Regions from separate parts of the Homo sapiens genome. Here regions 1, 2, 3, 4, 6 and 7 are each linked to region 5. Evidence: promoter capture Hi-C in 16 types of primary human blood cells and fetal thymus (Javierre and others, 2016). All regions are on one chromosome and are shown on one strand. The core of a region is centred on a gene start or on the middle of the fragment in contact, and the rest is flanking DNA. Distances in the headings are between cores, read along the strand shown. Region 1 has its middle 39 kb from the start of LINC02946. Region 2 has its middle 52 kb from the start of LINC02946. Region 3 overlaps LINC02946 (long intergenic non-protein coding RNA 2946). Region 4 has its middle 20 kb from the start of LINC02946. Region 5 holds the start of ECRG4 (ECRG4 augurin precursor). Region 6 has its middle 52 kb from the start of CD8B2. Region 7 has its middle 14 kb from the start of LINC02946.

Region 1 (3,845 bases), core at 1,142-3,641, 490 kb before region 5:
ACCTCAACTGTGCATCAGAATTGCCTTTTCAAAATATCCAGAGGCTTTGCATCCCACCCCAAAGATTCTATTTCAATTTATACAGAATGGTCCCAGGGCAATGGTATTTTTGAAAGGCTGCCGGGGTGATTCTATTGTATAGCCAGGGCTGAGAATGCCTGAGCTGGAAGCAGCACATAGAGGAATACCCAGCAACAGGGAGCCGCAGAGCTGGGAACGGCCGAGTAGGAAGATGCCTCAGCCCGTCAGCCACTGTGAGTGAGGAGCAGGATGCAGAAGGACCTACTTGTCTTGGCCTCATGGAGAGAAACATGGCATCTGAACCATGGAGAGCCCCAGGGTTTCATCCTAGTCTCTGGGTACCCTCGCTTCTTAGGTAATCTCTCATCTCCTGTGGCTTTAAATTATGAATGCCATCTCCATGCAGTAATTGAAAATCCTCAGCCAGACTGCGATTTCCAACTTCCTACATGCCATCCCTACCTGGATGTCTAGCCAGCCTCAGCCATCACACAGCCACACTTGCATGACTCCTCCATCCCGAGATCCCCTCTCTCAGACAATAGCCCCGCCGTTCTGTAACTGCCCCCTCCGGAAGGTGTGCAGAGCACACTGAGCCCTCTCTTTCCCTCACACCTCACATCGATTTTATCCTCAGGTCCTGCTGGCTCTAATGTTGAAATATATTGTGACCAACCCCTTCTTACCAACTCCATCCCAGCATGCCGGCCCACACTGCCAACATCCTCTGAACATTGTACCAACCCCCAAATGCATCTCCAGTGCTCCTTCTCTCTTCCTCCTTGCAGCAGAGGCCACAAACAGCAGCCGGAAGAAACTTGTTAACTCAGCCCTGCGGCTCCATAGGTGAGCATGCTCACCCTCCAGGGGCTTCCCATCCCCTCAGAGCAACACCTGGTGACACGCTGCGGTGCACAGGCTCCGACACCACCCGGTGTCGCTCCCTTCCAGATCCACCGCCTTCTACTCCATGCCTTTCCCACTGAGTCCCATCACAGGGTCTCCCTGTTGTTCTTGAATATTCTCTCCCCCAGAGCCTCTGCACCAGATTGCACACCCCTCCATCACCAAATTCACCAAGATCTCTGCTCAAATCCCACCTCTTGGAGTGGGGTTTGGGGGGCTTTCCTGGCCCTTCAATCTCTATCAAGAATACTCTCCCTCCCCTACCAGCTTTCCTCTGCGGCCTCCTACCTGGCCTTATTTTTCTACCCATCACTTATGGCTACCTAAAATTACTGCTTGTTTTTGTTTCTCTGCCTCCTCCCCTGTCCTCCCCTGGAATCTAAGTCCCTGCAGGACAGAAGGTGCCTTGCAGCTGCACTGCTGGCTCCTGGAACAGGGTTGGCATGACCGCGGCCAGGCAGGTGCTCCATGTGTGCTGACTGAGTCTTCATTAAAAGCTGCACAACAAACACAATGAAGTGTTTGTTAATTTAACTTTTTAAAATTATGGTAAAATAGATGTAATATGCAATTTCTATTTTTGACATTTTCAAGAATACAGTTCGGTGGCATTGAGTACATTCACTTTGCTGTGCATCTATCACCACCATCCACCTACAGGACATTTTTGTCATCCCAAGCTCTGCACCCATTAAATGCTAACTCCCCTTCTTCCTCCTCCCAGCCCGACACCCACCCCCCACCATTCTACTTTCTGTCTCTGTGAATCTGACTACTCTAGGGATGTTAGGGACGTCATACAAGTAGAATCATGCAGTATTTTTCCTTTTGTGATGGCTTATTTCACTCAGCGTAATGTCCTCAAGATTAATCCATATTGTAGCATGTGTCAGGGCTTCCCTCCTCCTCAAGGCTGAATAATATTCCACTGCATGTCTAGACCACATTCTGTTCTCCCATTCAACTGTCAATGGACATTCGAATTGTTCTCATTCAACTTGCAGCCACAGTGCTTGCAAAATATGAAGTACGAACAAAAGGATACAGGGCGATCCAGTGCGATCCAGTGTCACCAAGAGCCCCAGTTTTCCAGGAAGCCAGCAAAGCAGGACATTCCAAGGGTCCCTGTGGAGGCCTTGGGGCAGCAGGGTCAGAACTGAGAGGCCTGGATGTGTGGCAGGCACGGAATGACCGATTTCATCAGTAGCATTACACTGAGTAATCACCAACCACCAACTCCTTCAATTACTACCACAACGCGGCTGAGAAGAGGAAGATCTGAAGAGGAAGAGAAACGTGTGGTCTTCTTCTGCCCTGGTTTGAGGCTGAGGTGTCCCTGGTAGCCCTGAGGGGCCTCCTGGCTGTCCTTGGCAGGTGTGGCTGTCCTCACTGGCCACTGGCTTTCTCCTTACACCTACCCAATGCCCCCCATGAGGCTGACTCCCCCTTCTCACCTTTCCCTCTCCCCACTCACCTGCCAGCCCTTCCCATTAGGACCCCAGAGCCTATATGAAGGAGCAAACGGGCTCACTGTTTTATTTCTTTAAAACTTAAGACCCCATGAAACAAAGCAAGGTCTGGTCATATTGGGTTGTGTCACAGTTTGAAAAAGGCAAGGTCATGTCTGCAAGAATGACTCTGCTGCTAGGAGGGCAAGAAGGCTGGGATGGCCAGGCTAGAGATGTGTGGTGGGAATTTGGGGAAGAGAGGTTGGTTAAGGAAGGGAGAACCAATGGTGAAAGGACTGGAAAGAAGACACACAGGGAAAGGTGGTGTTCTCTACCGAGGGGAGGCCTGTCTTGGGTAGGGCTTAGGAGTGAAGGAAGGGGGATGTCTCATTCAGCCTCCATTCTGAATACCCTCTAAGTTATCTCAATAGGACACGTGGCTCCTCAAAGTGAGGTCTATGGGTAGGGCTGGTCTCTGACTGTCTGTTACCAGCCCTCAATGAGAAAAGCACAGAAATGAGAGTCAAGTGAGTAGAAACTTGTGCCTTTGGCGTGGCTGCAGCAGCCACTAGCTGCAATCAGTGGCCTTGGCTTGTGGGTGGGTCTGAGACCAGGGCAGGTGCTGTTCAGCATGTGCTGAGATGCAGGCAGTATGAGTCACGTGCTGTCAGGGACTGTTGGACCTTCAGGGGTCTGGGAGAGGTGGAGGACACTGGTTTTCACTACAGCCGGTTTGAGGAGGTGTGCCCTGAGCCATGCTCCATGACCCCGCACACTGGCATCTCCTCCAGAGCCTGTTCCCAACCTGGGCACCAGGTGATGTCATTGGCCTGCATTTCGGGGCATATGTGCACAAAAGAGACCTCTGTCCACCCTAGACTCACATTCTACCCAATGGGGGGAGCCTGGGACCAAGGCGATCTGAGGAAACAGCAAAGTCCCTCCTCCAATTTCCTCTTGCTTGAGTGTTCTCTCTGAGTAGAATGGGGGGAGGTGGGGTGGAAATGTCCCTATTTCTTAATCCCTTTAATTTATTTAAATTGGTCTCTCTCCACACATGCAATTGAATGTGCACAAGTTTGTATGTATAATTTGACTCCACTGTAGAAGTTACCACCCAAGCAAAAACCAGACTGATCACGTGCTCAGCAGGAACCAGGCACTGGGATGATGGCTTTGCAAGAGCTTTGACTCCTCACATCGAATCTGTGAGGAAGGTGCTGTTACTATCATGCCCACTTCACACATGGGTTTTAGCTCTTCCCACCAACTGTTGTTGGTTGAATCGTGCCCTTCCCCTTCCCCTATGTACACCTAGTAATATATGTTCAAGTCCTAACCCTTAGTACCTGTTAATGTGATCGTATTTGGAAATTGAGTCTTTGCAGATGTAATCAAGTCAAGAGGAGGTCATTAGAAAGGGCCTTGATCCAGTATGACTCACGTCCTCATAAGGAGGAATCTGGACAC
Region 2 (3,494 bases), core at 441-2,940, 400 kb before region 5:
GTGAGTGCACAACAGCTTGCTTGTCCATTCGTCATCACTTGACGAATATTTGAGTTATTAGGTTTTAGATATTGTGAATAAATCTGTTGTAAACATTTTTGTACAAGTCCTTCATGGAAATTGGTTTTCATTTTTTTTTAGGCACATACCTAGGAGTTGACTTACTGAGTCATGCTGGAGGTGTTTTACCTTACCAGTAACCGTCATAAACTCTTCCAAAGTGGCTGTACCACTTTGCACTGCCACCAACAAAATATGAGAGTTATGTTGCTCCATTTCCTCACCAATATTTGTGTTGTTGTTCCTTTCAATTTTAGCCATTGTAGTGGATATGAAGTGGTGGATTTTTAAACTTACATTTCACCTTTCCATGGACTTCCTGTCCATTCATGCATCTTCTTTGGTGAAGTATCTGTTCAAATCTTTTGCTCATTTTTTTAATTGTTAGTCTTTTTTAAAAAAATTGATTTGGAGGAGTTCTTTACATATAAATCCTTTGTCAAATATATATATATATATATATATATATATATATATATATATATATATATACTAAATATCTTCTCCCAGTCTGTGGCTCGCATTTTTATTTTTTTAGTGATCTTGTAAAGAGCAGGTCTTTAATTTTTATGAAATTAAAATAATATTTCTTTTGTGGTTAGTTCTGTTAGTGACCTTTCTAAAAAATGTTTACCTACATCAAGGTCATGAAGACATCTTATGTTTTGTTCTAGAAGCTTTAGAGCTACAGATTTTAGGCTTGATCTATTTTTCTTAAGTTAACTTCTGAGCGTGGTATGAGGTGGGAGTCTTGTTCCTCCCTCACCCCCTACATGTACATAACATACACATTTATCCAGTTGTTGCAGCATCATTTTTTAAATAGGCTATTGTTTCCTCATTAAATTGTTTTGGCACATTTGTCAAAAATCAATTGACTACATAAGTGTGTCTAATTCTGGGCTCACTGACTTCTTTGTCTGTCCTTATGCCAGTATCACACCATCTTAATTAATGTAGCTTTACCCAGAGTACAAGCTACATAATTTATGTAGCTTTATCTTGGAATCAGATAGCATGAGTCTTCCATTGTTTTTTTTTCAAGAATTTGGCCAGTCTAATCCCTAAGCCTAGAATTAACTTGTAAATTTTAGAATAAGTTCTGTGGAATTTTGATTGAGATTGAGTTGAATTATAGATCAAAATGACATCTCATCAGTAATGAGACTTCCAAATAATAAACATGGAATATCTCTTCATTTACTTAAGTAATTAATTTAATTTACTTAAGTTATTAAAATAATTAAGAAATTAATTCATTTTAGCAATATGTCTGTGTACAGGTCTTACACATCTTTTGTTAAATTTAGTCTGAATTATTTTATGGTTTTGATGGGACTTAATATAGAAATAAAATAGAATCTATTTAGGAAATAAAATTGCATAAAGAAATTTTATTAAAAAATTATTTTTGTATATTGACCTTGTATGCTGTGATCTTGCTTAATTTGTTAGTTCTAGCAGTTGCTCTGTAGACTTCAAAAGATTTTTCTATATACACAGTCACATCATCTGTGATTAAAATCAATTTCATACCTCCTTTTAAATCTGGGTCTCTTATTTTATTTTCTTGTCTTCTCACAGTTAGGGCCTGCAATACAAAGGTAGCTTGTTCCTGAGCACTCAATATTTCACCGTTAAGTATCTATAGAATTTCTGTAAATGCCCTTTATAAGTTTAAGAAAATTCTGTTCATAGTTTGCTGGGAATTTTGATCATGAATGGTTTTGGATTTTGCTGACTGCATTTTCTGCCTCTATTGGGGTAATCACCTATTGTTCTCTTCTAGCTTTGCAATATGATAAGTTACATTGATTGATTTTTCAATGTTAAATTCAGATAAGACAAACTCCACTTGAACATGATAAATTCTCTTTCAACACTGATGGACTTGATTCATTAGTACTTTATTAATGCGTTTCATTTTTATATTCATGAGGGATATTGGTTTGCAATTTTCTTTTCATGTGATCTGTATGTCAGGTGTGAGTATTAGTGTTATAGTAGCCCACAAGTGTATAGTGTATAGTAGGAAGTGTTTTCTTCTCTTCATTTTCTGAAACTTTGCGTAAAATTGGCATTATTTTTCATCAACCGATTGATAGACTTCATCAGTGAAATTATCTGAGCCTGGAGAGTTTTTCCTGGGAAAGATTTTGATTATGAGTTCAAGTTCTTGAAAGGTCACCAGTTATAGCCCTATTATGAGTTTTCTATTTCTTCATATGTCAGTTATTTCAAGTTGTGTTTTTCAAGAAATTTGACCATTTCATCCAAATTATTGAATTTACTTACATAAAGTTTTCTATAATTTTTTTATTGTCCTTTAAATGCCTACAGGATCTATAATGACAACATTTCTGATTTTCTTAATTTTGTGTTTTGTAACATTTTATCATGATTAGTCTTGCTAGGGGCTGATCAATCTTATTAAACTTTTTCAGGAACTAACTTGTGACTTTGCTTATATTCACTATTATATTTATGTTTTCTATTTCACTGACTTCTGCTTTTATCTTTGTGATTTCCTTCCTTCCATTCACTTTGGCTTTAATTTAGTCTTCATTTTGGCTTCTTAAAGCAAAAGCTTAGATTGTTGATTTTAAGCCTTTCTTCTTTTCTTCTATAGACATTTAAGCTAAACATTATCTTCTAAGCACTGTGTTAGCTGCTTCTTCCAATTCAATATGTCATGCTTCTTCCAATTCAGTATGTCACGTTTTCATCATTATTCAGGTCAAAGTATTTTCTAATTTCTCTTGTGATTTCTTCTTTGATATATGGGCTATGTAGAAGTGTGCTATTTAATTTCTGCATATTTGTGAATTTTCTAGAGGTCTCATTTTCATATTTCTAATTTAATTTTGTTGTGCTTAGATAACATTACTTAATCTTTTGAAAATTTTTGTACTTTATTTTATAACCCAGCACATTATCTAGCTTCATAAACACTTTGTGTATACTTAAAAAGAATGCATATTCTGTCGTTGCCGTCAACTTAAGTCAAATCGGTTGATATTGTTGTTCAAATCCGCTATGTCCATATTGATTTGTTTACCTAGTTCTATTAGTTTCTGAGAAAAGGATGTTAAAAATCTTCAAATGAAATTGTGCATTTTCTATTTCTTTCTTTAGTTCTATCATATATTTTGACACTTTATCATCACATACATACATACTTATAAAATGTATCCCTTTATCTCTGGTAATGATCCTTATGTTGAAGTCTACTTTGTCTGTGATTCTTCTAGCCACATAGCTTCTTTTTGCTTGGCTTTTGTGTGGTATATTTTCTTTCATTCTTTTTCTTTCCACTTATTAGAGTCTTTAGTGCACTTCTAGTAGGTACCATTAGTTGTGTCTTCCTTTTTTAAATCCAATCCAACAATATCCACCTTTTAATTACTGTTTAGTTTAACTACACTAAATTTAAT
Region 3 (3,587 bases), core at 469-2,968, 460 kb before region 5:
CTCCAGCCTGGCTACAGAGCAAGACTCTGTCTTGAAAAAAAAAAAAAAATCTCTTTATGCCATATACATGTACCCAAAACTGAAAGGGAAAGACTGATGTATTTGACTACAATTAGGTAAACTTTATTTATTTATTCATTTTTATTTTTAGACACAGAGTCTTGCTCTGTCGCCCAGGCTGGAGTGCAGTGGTGTGACGGCAGCTCACTGCAGCCTCAAACCCTTGGGCTCAAGGGATTCTCCTGCCTCAGCCTCCTAAGTAGCTATGACTACAGGAGTGCCCCACCATGCCACGCTAATGTTGTATTTTTTTATTATTTATTTATTTATTTTTGTAGAGACAGGGTCTCTCTTTGTTGCCCAGGCTGGTCTCAAATTCCTGGGTTTAAGTAATCCTCCTGCCGTGGCTTCCCAAGGTGCTGGGATTACAGGCATGAGCCACTGCACCTGGCCCCAAAATTTATCATATGAAAAGCCACCATAAACAAAGTGAATAGGCAAGTCACCAGTTAGAAAAAGATTTGCAATTTAGATAACCAGAAAAGGATTAGAACTTAGTATGTGTAAAAAATTCATACAAATCAGTAAGCTATAAACAGGCCAATAGAAAAAATGAGCAAGGGATATAAATGGATAAAACACAGAAAAGAAAAACTGAATAGCCTATATATATGAAAACATGATTATTCACTAGTAATAAGAAAAATGAGTTATTTTAGTTTATACTCAAAAGTATTGATGAAGATGTAGAGAAATGAGAACTCACAAACTGCTGGCAGAAGCGTGAACTGGCTCAAGACTTTGAAAGACAATTTGGCAATAGATGGTTAAGGGGAAGATGAGTATGTATCGTCTACCCGAGCAGTGTTGCTTTCATGGTTCATGCTAGAGAAACTCACACTTGGCCATGATGGCACATGTATAAAAGTGCTCATTGTAGCATTGCTTATATCAGAAGAAAAGGCAAAAATCAAAATGTCCATTAACAGTAAATAGGTAAATTATAGTATATTTATACAGTAGAATACTATACTTATCACACAGGATTAAAAGTTAATTAACTAAAGCAGCATACTTCATCATGAATGAATGTCAAAAACATAATGTCAAGTGGGAGAAAAGCAAGTTGCAAAATTATATCAGTTAAACCAATTATTTAAAATTGGTATATTATGTCTTTTGCAAAAGGAATCTCTTATCTCCTTTAACTCGTAAATCTATGAATCGGTAAGGCTTCTCTTCAAAATGTGATTTTTTCCCCTCCTCATGGATATAAAGAACTTTAAAAAAACCAAACTAATATTGCCCACAAGAGAGAAGCTTATTGCAAGCACCATTATTTTATGCAAACACTATTATATCCTGCTATATCTCATCAAGAATATTTGTGTGTCTGAGGAACATGTCAATATTATCTATAGGAAAAGTATAAAAACATAATCAAGAAGAACATTCACTAACCTCTGCATAGTTAGTTCCTAGTGAGGGAAGGAAGGGAATGACATCAAGAAGCCAAAGGCAATTCGATTGCATCTGTAGTTTCCATTCCTTAAAAAATATCTGAACCTAATTTACTAAATCTGGGTAATGGTATGATGAGAGTATATTATTTTCTGTACTCATTTGTCCTATTTTAAATATTTTTATTAAGTGTCCCAACCTGACTTTTTCTCCTTTCAACTAAGATACTGAAAGGCTTTTTGCCCCAGAACTACTTTTGAAAGGCTTTTTTCAAAAAAAGATACCAAAAGGCTTTTTGGACCCAGAGATATTTTTGAAAGGCTTCTTTAGGCCAGGTACCGTGGCTCATGCCTGTAATCCCAACACTTTGGGAGGCTGAGGCGGGCGGATCACTTGAGGTCAGGGGTTCGAGACCAGCCTGGCCAACATGGTGAAACTCCATCTCTACTAAAAATACAAAAAGTAGCCGGGCATGGTGGTGGGCTCCTATAATCTCAGCTAACTGGGGAGGCTGAGGCAGGAGAATTGCTTGAACCAGGGAGGTGAAGGTTGCAGTGAGCAGAGATTGCACCATTGTACTGTACCCTGGACAGCAGAGTGAGACTCTATCTTAAAAAAAAAAAAAAAAAAAAAAGAAGTAGAAATTCTGAGATGGAAAAGCTTTTTGCCCCAGAGCTTATGCTTTCACATGTCACTATTGCAGCTCCCAGCCCTGTGGGGTTTCACTCTAGGTGTTATCACTTGCTTTGATTATAAGACTCTAAACCACAGCCCTGGGTGAACCCTGGCCCATCTGGCATGAAGACAGAAGACCATCATACAATTGCCAGCCTCTTCTTTTCACTCATCCTCATAGTCAAGAAATATGTGTATGTGTCCACTGCAGCCTGTGTTTGCTCTGCCCCCTCTCTTCACGCCACACTCCCAGCTTGATGTTTGCCAGTTCATGCTTGTGCCAGTTGTTGGCACTTACTCTCTGGCGAGTGTACAGCTGACCTTACTGCCTCTGGCTCCTCCTTCCTGTGCTCTTGCTCTTCCATCCACCAACTTTATTAATACTCTGTTTTATGACCCAGGTTACCGAGGAGACCTCAAATCAGGGTGGAGAAGGTACGTCTGCATACCATGCTCTCCCTCCCCAACCTCTCCTCTGCAGGTCCATAGTCACCTATTCGTGATGCTCCTCAGACATGGCCATCCAGGCGTTGCCCACCTCTCGTTGTTGTGAAATACACTCAATTGCTATCTATTGATACCTATTTTTATATTTTACTACAGTGGCAATGAAAGAATTATTTGGGGGAGGATAGGTAGTAGGAATAGCTTTATTAAAAGAAAAATAAAGATCACAGATTTTGCTGTATACATTTCCAAATTCTTCATCACAGTTTTTTTTTTTCTTCACGAGGATTGGATTGTACTGCATATGGCACTTTGAAACCTGCCTTTTCCCTTTATGATTTATTCTGGGCACCTTTTTTTCAGATCAATGATTTTTTTTCTTTTTCTTTTCTTTTTGTTTTGTTTTGTTTTGAGACAGGGTCTTACTCTGTCACCCAGGCTGAGTGCAGTGGCCTCATCTCGGCTCACTGCAACCTCAACCTCCTGGGCTCAAGCAATCCTCCTGCCTCAGCCTCCCAAGTAGCTAGGACCACAGATGCGTACCACCACACTCAGCTAATTTTTTTTTTTTTTTTTTTGTAGAGACAGGATTTTGCCACATTGCCCAGGCTGGTCTCAAACACCTGGGCTCAAGCAGTCACCCTGCTTTGGCCTCCCAAAGTGCTGGGATTCCAGGAGGTCAATGACCTCAAGCTCCTCTATTCCCAGCAGCACTTCTGAGCTCCTGGCAGGAACATATATTCATGTATAAGCATGAAAAGGGGGGTCCCCAACTCTGCCAAGGGTGGGAGTAGGGAGCCACGGTAGACTCCCTCACAAACACAATTGGAGATGACCAGAAGGCTAAACATTGGTGCCTTTGGCCTTCAAGATACCCTTTAGAAGACAATTATTATATTTTCTTGAGTGTGAATGGAGATAGGATGGGAGGAGCAGCTTCCAGGACCCTGCCCCACGGCAGACCGGCCTCTGCCCTGTGGATCCCAGGACCCTGCCCAACAGCA
Region 4 (3,691 bases), core at 686-3,185, 480 kb before region 5:
CTTTTGAGAACTTGTCACTTCGGTTGGACAACAACCACTCTCCAATTATGCTACTGCTTTACGGCTTTGAAAAAGTAGGAAGTATATGAGTATGTTTCTAGGGCAGGAAATATGGATAATAATTAGAGTTAATGAATAAAGCTTCCAATGTTAGCCAGGGTAGCATGAGAATTAATTATAAATTTGATTAAAGAGATTAGAGTTCATTAAAAGTTAAGTGTTCTGCTTCCTCATGTTTTGATCTCAGGTTAGTGAATGAGGTTCGCTGTTGAGGAGTGTGCTCTACTCGAGATCCCCGAGCTAAAGCTAAATCAGGTTAAGTACATCCTTTCCTTGCCTCCCAAACTCCCAACCTAGGAGTCATGCATAATTTCCATGCACATGCAGGGGATGAAATCTCTTTAATCCTTATGACTTTTCCCTCGGGCCTGCCACTCTCACTGAATTCTGTGAATTTTTAATTAACCTAGAGTTGAAGATGTATAGGCAGTTATATATCCTCAAAGATTCAAATGGTTTTTCAGCTCCCGTTTGAATGGCTCTTCTAACAAGGCCTGAAATAAAGCTGTGTGAAAAACAGAAGTCCGAAAGAGTGCTCACTTTAGAAAAATTGAAATAAGCAATTATTATAGTTAATATTGACAAAAACAAGAGCTAGGGAACAAAACCAGTTTTTAGTATTGTGCTGGTGATTTCCATGTGCCCCACCATGCACTCATTCTCAGTGTTTCCCTGCCCCTTGTGCCCCAGGGGTTGAACCTTCCTTGGCTGCTTCTCTTGGGCTCCTTGGCCCTTTGCCTTCTGGTTGGGGGCTTAGATTCAGTGGGTGGTGGCAGAGGTGGGGAAGCTGGGTAGCCAGTGGCTGCCTCTTTGGTTACAGGTTACAACTCCACTTGTTCTGGCCCCAAGCTCTCTCTGGGCTCCAGTAACATTGCTCCTTTCTTCTGCCCCTTCAGGCCCAAGGCAATAACAGCTTCCCACATATACGAGTCACCATCCTTTGTTGGTTCCATTAAACCCATCTGAAGAGTTGTTTAATGAAACTTTCTTCAATGAAACTTTCAGAATGTGCCAACTGCTTTCTGCCAAGATCCTGAACTGATCTGAATCAGGTTTTTGGCCATGTCATCTACGTGTCTCCCTGTCTCCTATGTGTCTCCCTGTCTCTCCCACCAACTTACAAGTCTCTGAGGGCAACATATCTGACTTACCATAGTTGTGTCCCCAGTGTTTAGAACATCACCTGGTCTACTATAAGCATTCAATATTTGCTTGATGGATGAAACAGTGTACCCATTAGTGAATTCCTAGATGTGGTGCTTTATTTTTGGGGAAAAGTTGAGGTTATCTAACATCCAGACCAGAAGACATGAGTGGAAATGGTATAGTTTGGGACAGAGACATGTGCCACTGTCTGTGGTTGGCAGTCATTAACATGTTTGGGTCAAGCTCCCTCCTTCACCCCACACAAATCTCCATTAGAGCCTTATAAAACCAACTGCTTCAGAAACCATTTCATCTGAAGAACTGGATACAGAAGCTCATATGCACAAAACATGGCGTGGGTTTGGACACCAAGTCTATCATTTAGATGCTTTTGGCCATTAACAGCATATTTAATTTCCAGAGGCTTAAAAAATAAAGATTATTACTATCTCATGTAATAAAAGTCCTGGAGGTTGGGGTGCTTCTTCTCTTTTGTCCTTTCCACCCCTCCCCAATCTCCCCAGTATGGCCACAAGATGGTGGCCACTGCCCTAGGCACAATCTTCACACAAGTCCACCAAAAGGCAGGAAAGGAGGCTCTTTTTGCTTGTTTCATTTTATTAGGGAGTCCTTCAGCAGACACACCCTCACATCCATTGGCCTTGATTGGCTCTCATGCCCATCACCTAGCTAGCTGCAAGAGAGGCTAGGGAAGAGAGTCTCTGTTTTTTTGTTTTTTGTTTTTTTGACAGTGTCTTGCTCTGTCACCCACGCTGGAGTGCAGTGGCGCAATCTCGGCTCACTGCATCTTTTGCCTCCCAGGTTCAAGCGATTCTCCTATCTCAGCATCCGAAGTAGCTGGGACTACAGGCATGCACCACCATACTTGGCTAATTTTTGTATTTTTAGTAGAGATGGGGTTTTGCCACACTGGCCAGGCTGGTCTCGAACTCCTGACCTCAAGTGATCCTCCTGCCTCAGCCTCCCACAGTGCTGGGATTACAGGTGTGAGCCAATGCACCTGGCCGAGTATCTGGTGCTTTCAGCCTTTACAGTGAGAGGTTATCTCCATCAGTGCTTTAGACTGAGTGTTTTTGTCCCCCACATTTATATAATGAAGCTCGTACCCACAAGGTGATGGTATTAGGAAATGGGGCCTTTGGGAGGTGATTCAGTCATGAAAATAGAGTCCTATCAATGGGATTAGTGCCTTATAAGAGGAGACACAGAGCTTGCTGTCTCTCTGGCCTCTGCCATTGAGGATACAATGAGAAGAAGGCCATTCGTAAGCCAGGAAATGGGTCCTCGCCAGACATTGAATCTGCTGACACCTTGATCTTGAATCTGCTGACACCTTGATCTTGGACTTCACAGCCTCCAGAACTGTGATGAATAAATGTCTGTGGTATAAGCCACACAGTTCATGGTAATTTGTTATAGCAGCCTGAACAGATTAAGACAACCAGCAAGGAAGAAGGAGTAGAAGAAAAGCTGTTGGATGAACAACTAACAGTGTCAGCAACATAAATCAAAGAAGCAGATGAGAAGAATGCCACAATCGCTGAGGTTTCCACACATGCTCGATAGAGAAAGTTACTTTTTAGCTAAACTTAACGTGCATTCTTCATGTGGGTTGATTTATTTGAATAGAGAAACTCCAGGAGAAACCATGGTGATGTCAGTCTGTCCCTCTGTAAGATGAAAATAATGATGCTGACAGCTGTTTCACAATGAAATGTAGGTTACAAGTAAATATTTATAAAGGCATTATGAGATCCAAAGATAAAAGCTGTCATGGCACTAAAAATACATACACACCCTCACACCTGACACTGTTCTTTCTTCTCAGTTGTATTTTCATCACCATCAAGAGTATATTCACAAAGCCCTTCACATTTCACACAACGCTTTTGCACACACTGCCTTAGTAAATTATCTTGAACACACCCGGAATGGTTCCTATGATGATGTGTTTGTCTTGCGGATGAAAAGAGCAGCTAGGTAAGGAAGCTGGGACTTGAACCCAGGTCCTCTCACTATTAAACCTGAGGGGTTTTTCTCAGTGCCTTTGTAAGGAGGCAGGTAACGCAAAGGTAGGACAATGGGGAGTGTGAGGACATGAAGACCCGGAGATGAAGATATTCAACACAGATTCAGATCCAATTTTTAAAAACTGCTCTGTTTATGCCCTCCAAAATTATAAATACATGTGTCCTTTGACTCAGCAATTCCACTTCCAGGAATTTATCCTACAGATATACTCATATATATGCAAAACAACCCAATGGTCATCGATTGGAGACTAGTTAATTAAATGTTGGTAAGTCTGTACAAAGGATTAGTATGCAGCTATTTAAAAGGGCATAGCTATTATCATGCTAATATGAATCTATCTTCAAGATATACAATAAAGTGAAAAGAACATTTGTGCATACCAGTACATATTTTCTTGCATGTTCGTGAAATATCTTTAAGAATATAAAGG
Region 5 (3,925 bases), core at 854-3,353:
ATAATTTATTTTTTTTTAGATAGTGTCTCGCTTTGTCACCCAGGCTGGAGTGCAGTGGCGCAATCTCGGCTCACTGCAACCTCCGCCTCCTGGATTCAAGTGATTCTCCTGCCTCAGCCTCCCAAGTAGCTGGAACTACAGGCACGCACCACCACGCCTGGCTAATTTTTGCATTTTTGTAGAGAGGGAGTTTCACCATGTTGGTCAGGCTGGTCTCAAACTCCTGACCTCAAGTGATCTGCCCTCCTCAGCCTCCCAAAGTGCTGGGATTACAGGCGTGAGCCACCATGATCCCCCTTAAGTGAAGAGAATTTGAATGTCATATTAGAAGTAGATATTGGTAGCAATTTGGGGTAAGGGGGATGATCTCCACAGGATAAATAAGATTACAGCCATTATGTTTAATGTATGTTCTAAACCAATCCAAACAGAATATTGGCTTTTTATGTGCTTTGATTTTTCTTTCTAATGATAAATTTCTTGTCCTCAGGCAAAAGTAAATATATGCCTGGTTACTTTTAAAACTCCTATCCCCTATTCTACAGTTTCCTCAAGGGTTTAGAAGCACTTCCCCAAGATAGCTAGATGTGTAACATTATCCTTCTGATTCTCTCTGACACCCTGGGCAGTATCATGATCTAACTCAGACCCACTTTGCACTTTTTTCTTTGGTTGGCCACCATCTGTCTTTACTAGCTCAATGTTAGAAGACTTCTTTCTCCTTCCTGCTGGAGAAATTCAACTGCATTGCATGGAGAGCTAATTATATGGAGAGACAGTAAGTGCTTACCACTGGAGGGTATAAAAATACTGGCCGGTGTGGTGGCTCACACCTGTAATCCTAACACTTTGGGAGGCCGATGCGGGTGAATCATTTGAGTTCAGGAGTTCAAGACCAGCCTGGCCAACATGGTAAAATCCCTTCTCTACTAAAAATACAAAATTAGCTGGGCCTCGTGGCACATGCCTTGTAATCCCAGCTACTCAGGAGGCTGAGGCAGGAGAATCGCTTGAACCCCGGAGTTGGAGGTTGCAGTGACTGAGATCCCATCACTGCACTCCAGCCTGGGCAACAAGAGTGAAACTCCGTCTCAGGGAGGGGAAAATAAGTGAGAACCTTGGTGAAGGAAAGAGGTAATCAGCTCAGTTCAGGGCAGATCTGAGATGGGAAGACAGGAAAGGTAATCTCACATCTCCATCCTTTTGTAGCCCAGGCCTGGAGAGAATAATTAGGTGACCCGCTCAGAGTCCGTTGGGATAAAGTTGTTCTAGTTTTTGTTCACTACGCCTCCTTTCACGTGTCCTCTACAGTTGAACAGGCCAGTTACTGGGATGCAGTTCTGCGTTTCCCTTGGGTCTCACCTTAACATCGCTCGCTGAAGTGTGCCCAGATTACAGAGCGGGCAAAGGGAAGCAGTGGTTTTGCTCACAGCTGCAGGGCACCAGGTTCCTGGTTTCTCAAAGGCTTTTCTATTGGAGAAGTTTGGGTGAGACGATTTCCCGGACTGCAGCTCTGAACCCAGACTGTGGAATCTTTCAAACTATCTCAAAAACAGCCCCGCCTAAGGCATCCTTAAGAGCAGCTCTGAACTAAGGAAATTCCAAAGCCCACTTTACAAACCAGGCAGAAGCAAGGCCCCCAAGCAGGGAGGGAGGGAGATAGGGAAGAAAGGGGTGAGGAGTAAGGGGAACAGTGGCGCGGCTGGGGCGGGCGGAGGAAGTGGGGGAGCCAAGGAGACACCCCAGCGCTGGGATCCGGCAAGTCCTCCCTCTGAGTGGCCAGGGGGCCTCGTCCCTTCTCCCGATGCCTTCTGCCCTTCCTTGGGTCTCCGGAACCCAGCTTGTCCTAACCGCTTTCGCTGCGGGCAGCGCTGGCCACGCGGCCCCCGCCGCCGGCGGTTCTCCGTGGCCAAGCATCCTTGGCCTTGGAGCCCAGGGGCTGCGTTCCCCTTGGGGCCGGGGCGGGAGAGAGGACCTCGGTGGTACTCGCCCGTGCGCTGGGCGCAGCCGCTTGGCCCTCAGCCCTCTGGCGCGGCGCCCACCCGCTGGGTCCCGCCCCGGCAGCGACGCAGGGATAACCCGCGGCCGCGCCTGCCCGCTCGCACCCCTCTCCCGCGCCCGGTTCTCCCTCGCAGCACCTCGAAGTGCGCCCCTCGCCCTCCTGCTCGCGCCCCGCCGCCATGGCTGCCTCCCCCGCGCGGCCTGCTGTCCTGGCCCTGACCGGGCTGGCGCTGCTCCTGCTCCTGTGCTGGGGCCCAGGTGAGCGGGGCGATGCCAGGCTGATTGATAGCGGCACCAGGGGTTGGCCCCATGTGGCGCTTCCATGGTGCCCGGGGAGAGCGATCGGTGATGGGGTGGCGGCGTAGGGACCCATCCTTAGCCTAGGCAGGGCCAAGGGGTGGTAGAGGACCGGGTCTGGGGTTTTGCACTCGCACAAGTGCGAAGTGGTGCCCTTGTGAGGGTGGAGAGAGTACCGGGGTCAAGGGGAGGGTCTCAGATCTCCCGGGCAACCTTGGGCAAGGAGGGCCAGGCGTCCGAAGGGTGGGCAAGTAGTGTTTCGTGGCTTAACGTAAGGGGCAAAAGGGTTGTGGGGGCTTTACGCAGCTGGTAACCCAGAGGAGGCAAATGGCACCATCACCGCCATTCCCTTCCAGGCAGTCGCTTAGCAACCAAGTTGACTTGCGCTTCCCAGCTGGGTCAAGTTGCAATTTGCAAAGCTGGGCACAGGCCTCACACCCCAGAGAGGGGAAAGGCTCTTAAAGGAGTAATGCTTAATCTTTCCTGCTTCGTGGAGCTCCCAGCGAATCGGTTGAAAACTCTGAAATTCTCTGCTCGCTCTCTGTAAAACGTGCATTCACACGCACACCCAGAATGATGGGTGCTCCGATATCTGATCGCTGGGCTCCACAGGCCCCACTTTAGGAACCATAATCTGAAGCCGTGGTTTGTCCTGAGTTACCACCTTCACTGGGTAGGAGGAACATTTATGGTTCACAAGTGGCCTCAAGGACACATGACTGCCTTTGAAGCTTACAACTAGGGGAGGCAGGGATTGTTACCTCAGAGTTACTGGTGTATGAAGTGACTTGCCCAAGAGCCTGAGACTGGCGCTGTCCCACTGCAAAGCAGCTGGGCACTGCCTAATGTAAAAGGGAGGCTCACTCGGTTGCTCAGTTTCTGTATTTTGCTCATTCGAAACAGGTATGGAAACTGAACTCGAGGTGAGAAGAGGCAGGGGACATTCAGTAGGAGCCCTGGGATGGAGCCCCGGGGTTGCTAAAACAGCAGGAGGCGTGGTGAGGTCTGTTCAGGTGGGGAGGATTATTGTTCCACCTTAGAATCACAGGCGAAGCTAATCAGTCATTTCCCGTTGTATGGTTTACCTGCCTCCCACTCTTTGTTCTTGCCACTTTAAGAAGCACATCTGGGCCGGCCTTGGTGGTTCATACCTGTAATCCCAGCACTTTGGGAGGCCGGGGGGGGGGGGGGGGCAGATCACCTGAGGTCGGGGGTTCGAGACCAGCCTGACCAACATGGAGAAACCCCGTCTCTACTAAAAATGCCAGACGTGATGGCACGTTCCTGTAATCCCAGCTACTCGGGAGGCTGAGGCAGGAGAATTGCTTGAATCTGGGAGGAGGAGATTGCGGCGAGCTGAGATCGTGCCATTGCACTCCAGCCTGGGTAACAAGAGTGAAACTCCGTCGCAAAATAAAAAAAGAAATAAATAAAAGAAGAAGAAGAAAAAAGCACATCTGAATAAGTCAAGTGAGCACTGGCTACAAGCCATTTATTTTCAGGACTTGTATTTTATTTAGTTTATACCAATAACTCAGTTAAAATATCATCACCGAGCTGGGATGTGAAAGTTCTTATACAGTGAAAATATTTTTTTTTTTTTTGAGATGGAGTTTTGCTCTTGTTG
Region 6 (3,608 bases), core at 86-2,585, 470 kb after region 5:
CCTTGTGGAATGCCCGAGGAAGCGACAAGGAATGAAAAGAAGAGCATGGCTGTTCTTACTGAAGTGGCGGTCGATTTCTAAAAGCCCTTGCAGAGGATTTCTGTTGTTGCCACCTCTAATTAGTACTGCTGGGATTAAACTTAATAGGTTCTGAAGATAAAGTTAGCACGAAGGAAAAACAAACACACTGACAAAGCACATTCAGAATCAGCCGTGGGACAGCCGTCACGCCTGCTTGTTGCTAAGCTAGCTTCAGGCACCTCGCTTTGGAAATTAGCAGGGTAATGAATGTAAAATAAATGAGAAGTCTCTGTGAGGCTCCTTTTCTGACCTGCGCTGAGAGCTGGTGGATGCATGGCCCCAGAGGAGTCTCAAATGCTCAGTGATTGCGGAGGCCTGCGGACCTTCAGTGCTCAAAGTGTTTGCACGCATCTGGGTGTGCCCAGACAAAGCTGCTGGTCTAGGGAAGCGTAAGTCATCAGCTTGACTACCAAAGACCTTGCAAGCTTCCTCATGGTGGCACAAAACTAGCCAATATGACTCAATTCCCAAATAACACTTGCCAGTGATTTGAGAAACGGGAAAATACGGTATAGGCAGGGTGGTCAACTCAGGGGCTGAGGAAGGTTTAGGCTGTGAAGGGGAATTTTGAGATGGAGCCTTCAGCCTATGTAGGCTATGTATACATGAAGAATATTCATCTTGTTGCTTTTTGCTTGAAACGGTACACAAATGGCCTGCTTTTCTCTTTACTTGTTCTTAAAATTGATCAGAAGTAGCTTTCTTGGCTTGTTTCATAAGATCTTAGGACTTGAGCATCTACTATTAGCAGTGATTAAAATTTCCCCATGTTGTAATAAGGGTGACTGTGAATCTGTGTGGCACTTGAGATCTCACAAAGTGCATTTACCTTGGAAAATTCACCTTTGCGCTATCTAGAGCCGAGCAGTGTCCTGAGTAGGAATTCCTGTCTGTAACACCCTTCCCCACCTCCTACTCCCCAGATGTTCACCTGCATGTCACTATCTCTGGTAATAGCTGGCTTCCGTGTGTCCAGGCACTCCTGGGTCTTGGCCACATATTTTCAAAGGTCTGGCTCTTGGCATCTGTGCTGAGCTTGGACCCCTCCCTCTTCATATTATGCTCTCCACCCACCCACCCTTCCACACTGCCTCAAGGCTTCCCCTGGGGGCCTTCCTTGCCCTTCCTCATCAGGCCGGGCACTGCCATCTGAAACAGTCTCATATGCAGTGTGTCCCCCTCCCAGAGCTTGTGCACGGTGTGACTGTTTATCTGTGTGACTGCATGTGTGTGATCAGTAGCTCATGAACTAGTGACACATGAGGACTTCAGAGCCGGGTTCTTGCAGCTGGTGTGTGCTGGCTGAACTTCTGACTCTACCTGGTCACAGCGCAAGTGAACACGTGTTCACTTACACACCTTGGCCTCACTCATTTCAGGGCCAGGGCAGTGCCTGCCCCATGGAGTTGCTGTGTTGATGAGTGAGGCACATGAAGCACTTAGCAGAGTGCCTGGTGCCCCCACAGCACTCGGGGCCCATGTGTGGGTCTCACCTGTGTGCTGAGACCTCCTGTGTCTCTTCACCACTGTGTCTCCAGCAGGTATCACAGCACCTAGCACAGGGCAAGCTCCTTATAAATTTGTGAAATAAATGGATGAATAAGTGAGTTCAAGGGGAAATATATATATTGGTCCCAAAAGGCAAACATATTTATATTTCTAAAATTTAGAGAACTACTTTATGGAATTGAAGTAAAGATGTTTCTTGTTTCCACGCCAAAACATGGAAAGTTGATGTACTTGGGACACAATACCATGTGTGCGGTGTGCTCATCTTTTATTCTGAAGACAAATAAGGGGTCTTACTGTGGAATTAGGGGGCCACACGGGGCTGCAGCTTCTGGGCATCATTGCTCTTTGCTGCTTAATTCCAGCTTACAGGATGTTTCACACAAACACCAAAAACATTTTTAAGATGGACCATATCATATTTATCATTGTCTCTACAGTGTTTGGCTTCAATGCATCAAACTTCAAAATATGTGTTTGCTTGAATTCCAATTTCTTGACGGATACACGGCTTGGAAACCAAGCCTCCTTTGGCTGATAAAATAAGAACAGAATCTGACACTTAAAAAATTATTTAAGCTTTGCCAAGTGGGAAAAAAAAGTGTATTCTCCTACTGCTGAGCATCTTGGCTAACTTAATCACTGTTCCCGTCACTGAATCTCCCTTTTTTGTCATGGGACTTCCTGATCGTTAAATCTATTTCATAGTAAACATAAGTGAATTTTGGTTTATTGTTATTCTTGTTTACATTGAGAATTAATTTTGAGTGGAAATTATATACTTCATGTTATGTAGATGAAGTTAGGGTGGATGTTATATTCCAATAATTTTATGGCTTGAAAGAAATTCAATTTTGTTATGTGGAATGATTTCCTAAGAATGAAAAAAGAAAATGACAGCTTCAATGATCAAAGAAAGAATCATGCAGAGAATCGTTTATGTAGACCTCTCAAATTAAAAAAAATATCCAAGTATTACTGTTTCTTAATTATGTGGTCTCAAGATGAGTGTTGGAATAATTATGTTATTAGAAACTCAGCCTTTGTGAGAAATTCGTATTTTCATTATTTTATTTAAAAAGCTTTTCAACATTTCTTACTGCAAAGAAATGACAATTAGCCCTAGGAGACCAGCCCACCAAAGGCGCATTAATGTCAATCTCAAAACAGATAAAAATAGGACCAAGAATGAAGTCAACTGGCAGTACCACTCCCTCATTTAGCAAGTCGGCTTGTTGTTCTGGGTGAGCCAAGCAGGCAAACCCCCTGCTTTCAGGACTTTCACAGTCTTGAGGGGGAAAAAGTAAATCAAGCAAATAATCATCCAAATACTCCTTTTTTTTTTTTGAGATGGAGTCTTGTTCTGTCACCCAGGCTAGAGTGCAGTGACGCAATCTCAGCTCACTGCAACCTCTGCCTCCTGGGTTCCAGTGATTCTCCTGCCTCAGCCTCCTGAGTAGTTGGGATTACAGGCGCCTACCACCACGCCAGGCTAATTTTTCTATTTTTTGTAGAGATGGGGTTTCACCATCTTGGCCAGGCTGGTATCGAACTCCTGACCTTGTGAACCACCTGCCTCGGCCTCCCAAAGTGCTGGGATTACAGGCGCAAGCCACTGTGCCCGGCCCCAAATACTCTTATAACTACCTTTTGCAGTAAGTATTCAAAGTGACAACTAGCGGGTGTCTTGAAGGCATATCAGGGGAGCTTCATTCGGCTGGGGGAGTGGAGACAGCCTTTTGGGGAAAATGACCTTTAAGAGACTCAATGGTCCACAGGAGCCCAGCAGGAGGAGAGGGAATGAAGAGTTTTGCAGAGAGCTGGATGTGCAAGGGCCCTGTGGTGGGCAGGCTTGGTGGGCTGGGGCAGAGGAAGGCAGGCAGGTGTGGTTTGAGGTAGGCCACGGTGGCACGCTGGCTGTGTGACAAGGTCTGCAGCATGCCTGTTTGTATCTGTGTATCACTAGGACCTCCCACTAACTCTAGATCCCTCTCCGTCATTCATGCTCAAAATTGGTC
Region 7 (3,377 bases), core at 674-3,173, 440 kb before region 5:
GCTTACACTTTGGAGCTTAAGAAAATCATAGCCGGGCATGGTGTCTCATGCCTATAATCCCAGCACTTTGGGAGGCTGAGGCAGACAGATCACTTGAGGTCAGGAGCTCGAGACCAGCATGGCCAACATGGTGAAACCCAGTCTCTACTAAAAATACAAAAATTAGCTGGGCATGGTGGCGTGTGCCTGTAATCCCTGCTACTTGGGAGGCTGAGACAGGAGAATCACTTGAACCTGGGAGGCACAGTTTGCAATGAACCAAGATTGCGCCACTGCACTCCAGCCTGGGCGACAGAATGGGACTCTTTCTCAGCTAAAGAAAAAAAGAAAATCTTGGCCTGGCATGGTGGCTCATGCCTGTAATCCCAGCACTTTGGGAGGCTCTGGTGGGTGGATCACCTGAGGTCAGGAGTTTGAGACCAGCCTGGCCAACATGATGAAACCCTGTCACTACTAAATATACAAAAATTAGCAGGGCGTGATGGAACATTCCTGTAATCGTAGCTACTCAGGAGGCTGAGACAGGGATTGTTGCTTGAACCCAAGAGGCAGAGGTTGCAGTGAGCCAAGATCAAGCCACTACACTCCAGCCTGGGTGACAGAATGAGACTCTGTCTCAAAAAACAAAAAACAAAGAAAGAAAGAAAGAAAAAAGAAAGAAAGAAAAAGAAAGAAAGAAAGAAAAAATCCATAGAGCAACTGACAAACAAGTGGCAGACAAGAAGTGGTGGACGAATGGACATGGAGAGCAGGCTACTCTGAGAGAGAAGGTACATTCATAACAGTGAAAGTCACACCTGAGGCCTCATCAGGGAATGGGGAGAAAGAGATCTTAGGGTGGGGGAGGTCAACAGTGCCCGAGAGGTGATAGTTGAATCATAGGGCTTATAATAAGAGATGCAAAACAGTGGCGTTTCAGGAAGGTCAAGACAAAAGTCCCTAGAGAAATCAAGGAGAGCCACATCTTCATCCAAGCAGGTCATATCACTTTGTTCTCTGAGCACCTTTGGAAGAAGACAAAGATGATCCTTTCCTCCTTCTTCTCAACCCACCTGGCTGATCTGTTCAAGTTGGAGACCATCTTTTGGGTCTCTGTATTTATAGGACCAACATGATCCTTAACCCAGTAAATAATTTTTTAATGTAATGAGACTGAAACTTGGGGATAATTTAGGCATCATTCTGTTTAGAGAAGTGCTTTAACTTTGAGGGTGATATTGGAGAAAGCTTTTATCCTCTTTCATTTTTAGGCTGTGTGCATGTGTGTGTGTGTGTGCAATAGAAGCCATGGGGTGAAATACATGAGGCAGAAGGCACTGAGCCCGTCCTTCCTGAAAGACAGTCCAGCAGAGCCTGCAGCCCAAGTTCTGGAACTAGTGTGCTATCTAATTGACCATGTGACCCGTTGCATGTTCCCTATTCCATCTTTATGTTGGTATCTTCTTTAAAAACAATTTTGGAATAGATACACTAAACTTATACTTCTTGGGCTTGGTGATTGAGCACTGAAATTTTCTGGGGCCATAGCTATCTTTTAAAAATATTATTATTGAACAGATGTTATGAATTTCATTTTGGAGGAGTGTATTCATCCCTATGGCTACTATAATAAATTACCACAAATGTAGTGGCTTAGAACAACACAAATTTACCATCCTATAGTTCTGGGGGTCGGAAGTCTGATATGAGTTTCAGCTGGCTACAATCCAGGTCTTGGCTGTTCCTTCTGGAGGCTCTAGGGGAGAATCTGTTTCCCCTCCTTTTCCAGCTTCTAGAGGTTGCCTGCATTCCTTGGCTCATGGTCCCTTCCTGCATCTTCAAAGCCAGCAACACCTGGCTGAGCCCTCCTCCTGCTGCCACCTCTCTGGCTCTGTACTTCCCTCATCACATCTCTCTCTAACCCCCCTGCCTCCTTCTTGTCCCTTATAAAGATTCTTGTGATATTTTGGGCCCAAGCAGGATTATCTCCAGTGTCGTTAACGTAATTATATCTGCAAAGTCCCGTATGCCATGTAAGGAACATACTCACAGGTTTTGGGAATCAGAATGTGGACATTTGTGGGGGTGGGAGTAAAGAGGGCATGATTCTGCCTACCCACCATGAGAAAGAGATGAACACACACACAGGCACAGGCTTGTGGGGGGAGCCTGGACTTTTCTCAAGATATGCAGAGAGATGCAAAGACAGCGTCTGCAGGATTCCTGCCTGATGGAATGTGGGTGCAGTTGCTTTCTTACTGGCAGCTGGCTCTGGTTCCTCACTAGGTGGATGGTTAGGGGAAGGAAAACACAAGAGCAGTCACTGAGATGGAAATGTGGTCATTTGGGTTTATGTGCTTCTGTGAGCAGAGGAGGAGAAGTTTCTCTGAGTTTGGACAATCTTCCATCTCTCTTATTAATCTGTGAAAGTCAAGAAAAGTCATTAGCTCAAGAATGCTCCTCATCCAATGCTCAACCTGTATATCCAGTCAAAAGATCATAGATCGAAAGCACTGGAACCTCCTCCAAAATGGTGGCCCCAGCCCCACAGCCTTATTTGGGAAAACTGAGGCTGAGAGAGGTGCCATAAACTACCCAGAGCTGGAAATGCCTGCCTTGAGTGGGCTTAAGCTGGAATGGAAAGCTTACAGAATTTAAGACTAGTGGATGGAGACTTTTGTAGAGAGAGACACAGTAGAAGTAACTGTTTTAGTTAGAAACATCTAGGCAGAATGAGAAGAAATAAAATCCCATTTTCAGGTCATTAGTTTTTTGTTTTATTGCAATGTGCTGTGTGTTCCAGGAAGATGGTGTCAGCAGGCCATCTGTAGGGCATGCAGGTGATCTTCCTGAGAGAGTGCTGGACGTGCCAGTGCAACCTTGTTTAACCCTCCTCGTTCCCAAAGGACCCTGCCTAAGAGACCACAGGCCACGGTTACACACACTCCACGCGGTGCCAAGTGAGCCACTGACAGAAGGAGAAAGAAACCACCCAGTGATGTCTGCCAAGCTCAGACACTTCCCCTCCAGCGCAGCGTCCTCTCCCCCGAGACTGTGCTCCCAAACCACTACTGTTCAACAAGCTTTCCCTTGAGTTAAACGTTACCTAAACGTTAAGCACAGTTAATGTTTATGACCTCCGAGTTGGAAAAATTAGAACTGACTACTACTATCTGTTGAAGGAGGTGGGCACTCAGTCACTGGGGATGGGGAAGAAGTGCTGAAATCTGGAAAATGGAAGTCCGGGAAACTCATTTCCTGAAGGTCTTGTATCTGCGAGGCACCGTGCTTTGCACATTCATTGAGTCTTTTCAACAACCTTATATTCCCAGGTATTGTTATCTCATGCAGAGAAGACTGAGGCTCACGGGATGGGGGCCAGCACTCACTCCTGGCCA

Evidence for each region. Contacts are between HindIII fragments. The CHiCAGO score rates a contact against its expected background, and 5 or more counts as called.
Region 1: a contact is called between a fragment that was not itself captured here and the fragment with the promoter of ECRG4 in region 5, in 11 of 17 cell types (non-activated CD4 T cells, naive CD4 T cells, naive CD8 T cells and 8 more). The highest score is 21.4, in non-activated CD4 T cells.
Region 2: a contact is called between a fragment that was not itself captured here and the fragment with the promoter of ECRG4 in region 5, in 3 of 17 cell types (naive CD8 T cells, activated CD4 T cells and non-activated CD4 T cells). The highest score is 6.8, in naive CD8 T cells.
Region 3: a fragment that was not itself captured here is called in contact with the fragment with the promoter of ECRG4 in region 5 in 6 of 17 cell types (total CD4 T cells, M1 macrophages, non-activated CD4 T cells and 3 more); the score reaches 7.4 in total CD4 T cells.
Region 4: a contact is called between a fragment that was not itself captured here and the fragment with the promoter of ECRG4 in region 5, in 14 of 17 cell types (naive CD4 T cells, activated CD4 T cells, non-activated CD4 T cells and 11 more). The highest score is 19.8, in naive CD4 T cells.
Region 6: a fragment that was not itself captured here is called in contact with the fragment with the promoter of ECRG4 in region 5 in 5 of 17 cell types (total CD8 T cells, total B cells, naive B cells and 2 more); the score reaches 8.1 in total CD8 T cells.
Region 7: a fragment that was not itself captured here is called in contact with the fragment with the promoter of ECRG4 in region 5 in 6 of 17 cell types (activated CD4 T cells, total B cells, total CD4 T cells and 3 more); the score reaches 8.9 in activated CD4 T cells.

The regions. Positions count from the first base shown.
Region 1 is chr2:105,569,592-105,573,436 of GRCh38, forward strand. No RefSeq gene overlaps it. Among named protein-coding and RNA genes, the nearest start is that of LINC02946, 39 kb to the right of the region's middle. The HindIII fragment of the contact is 5,756 bases long and covers 1-3,845 here.
Region 2 is chr2:105,660,591-105,664,084 of GRCh38, forward strand. No RefSeq gene overlaps it. Among named protein-coding and RNA genes, the nearest start is that of LINC02946, 52 kb to the left of the region's middle. The HindIII fragment of the contact is 1,910 bases long and covers 736-2,645 here.
Region 3 is chr2:105,605,884-105,609,470 of GRCh38, forward strand. The region is part of intron 1 of LINC02946 (long intergenic non-protein coding RNA 2946); the gene reads right to left. Among named protein-coding and RNA genes, the nearest start is that of LINC02946, 2.9 kb to the right of the region's middle. The HindIII fragment of the contact is 801 bases long and covers 1,319-2,119 here.
Region 4 is chr2:105,588,445-105,592,135 of GRCh38, forward strand. No RefSeq gene overlaps it. Among named protein-coding and RNA genes, the nearest start is that of LINC02946, 20 kb to the right of the region's middle. The HindIII fragment of the contact is 3,593 bases long and covers 140-3,691 here.
Region 5 is chr2:106,063,585-106,067,509 of GRCh38, forward strand. It overlaps ECRG4 (ECRG4 augurin precursor), which reads left to right and starts at 2,104. Exons shown (of 4, transcript NM_032411.3): 1 at 2,104-2,259. The coding sequence starts at 2,181. The HindIII fragment of the contact is 9,592 bases long and covers 1-3,027 here.
Region 6 is chr2:106,537,646-106,541,253 of GRCh38, forward strand. It overlaps a transcript of CD8B2 not described here. Among named protein-coding and RNA genes, the nearest start is that of CD8B2, 52 kb to the left of the region's middle. The HindIII fragment of the contact is 1,663 bases long and covers 505-2,167 here.
Region 7 is chr2:105,622,849-105,626,225 of GRCh38, forward strand. No RefSeq gene overlaps it. Among named protein-coding and RNA genes, the nearest start is that of LINC02946, 14 kb to the left of the region's middle. The HindIII fragment of the contact is 1,396 bases long and covers 1,226-2,621 here.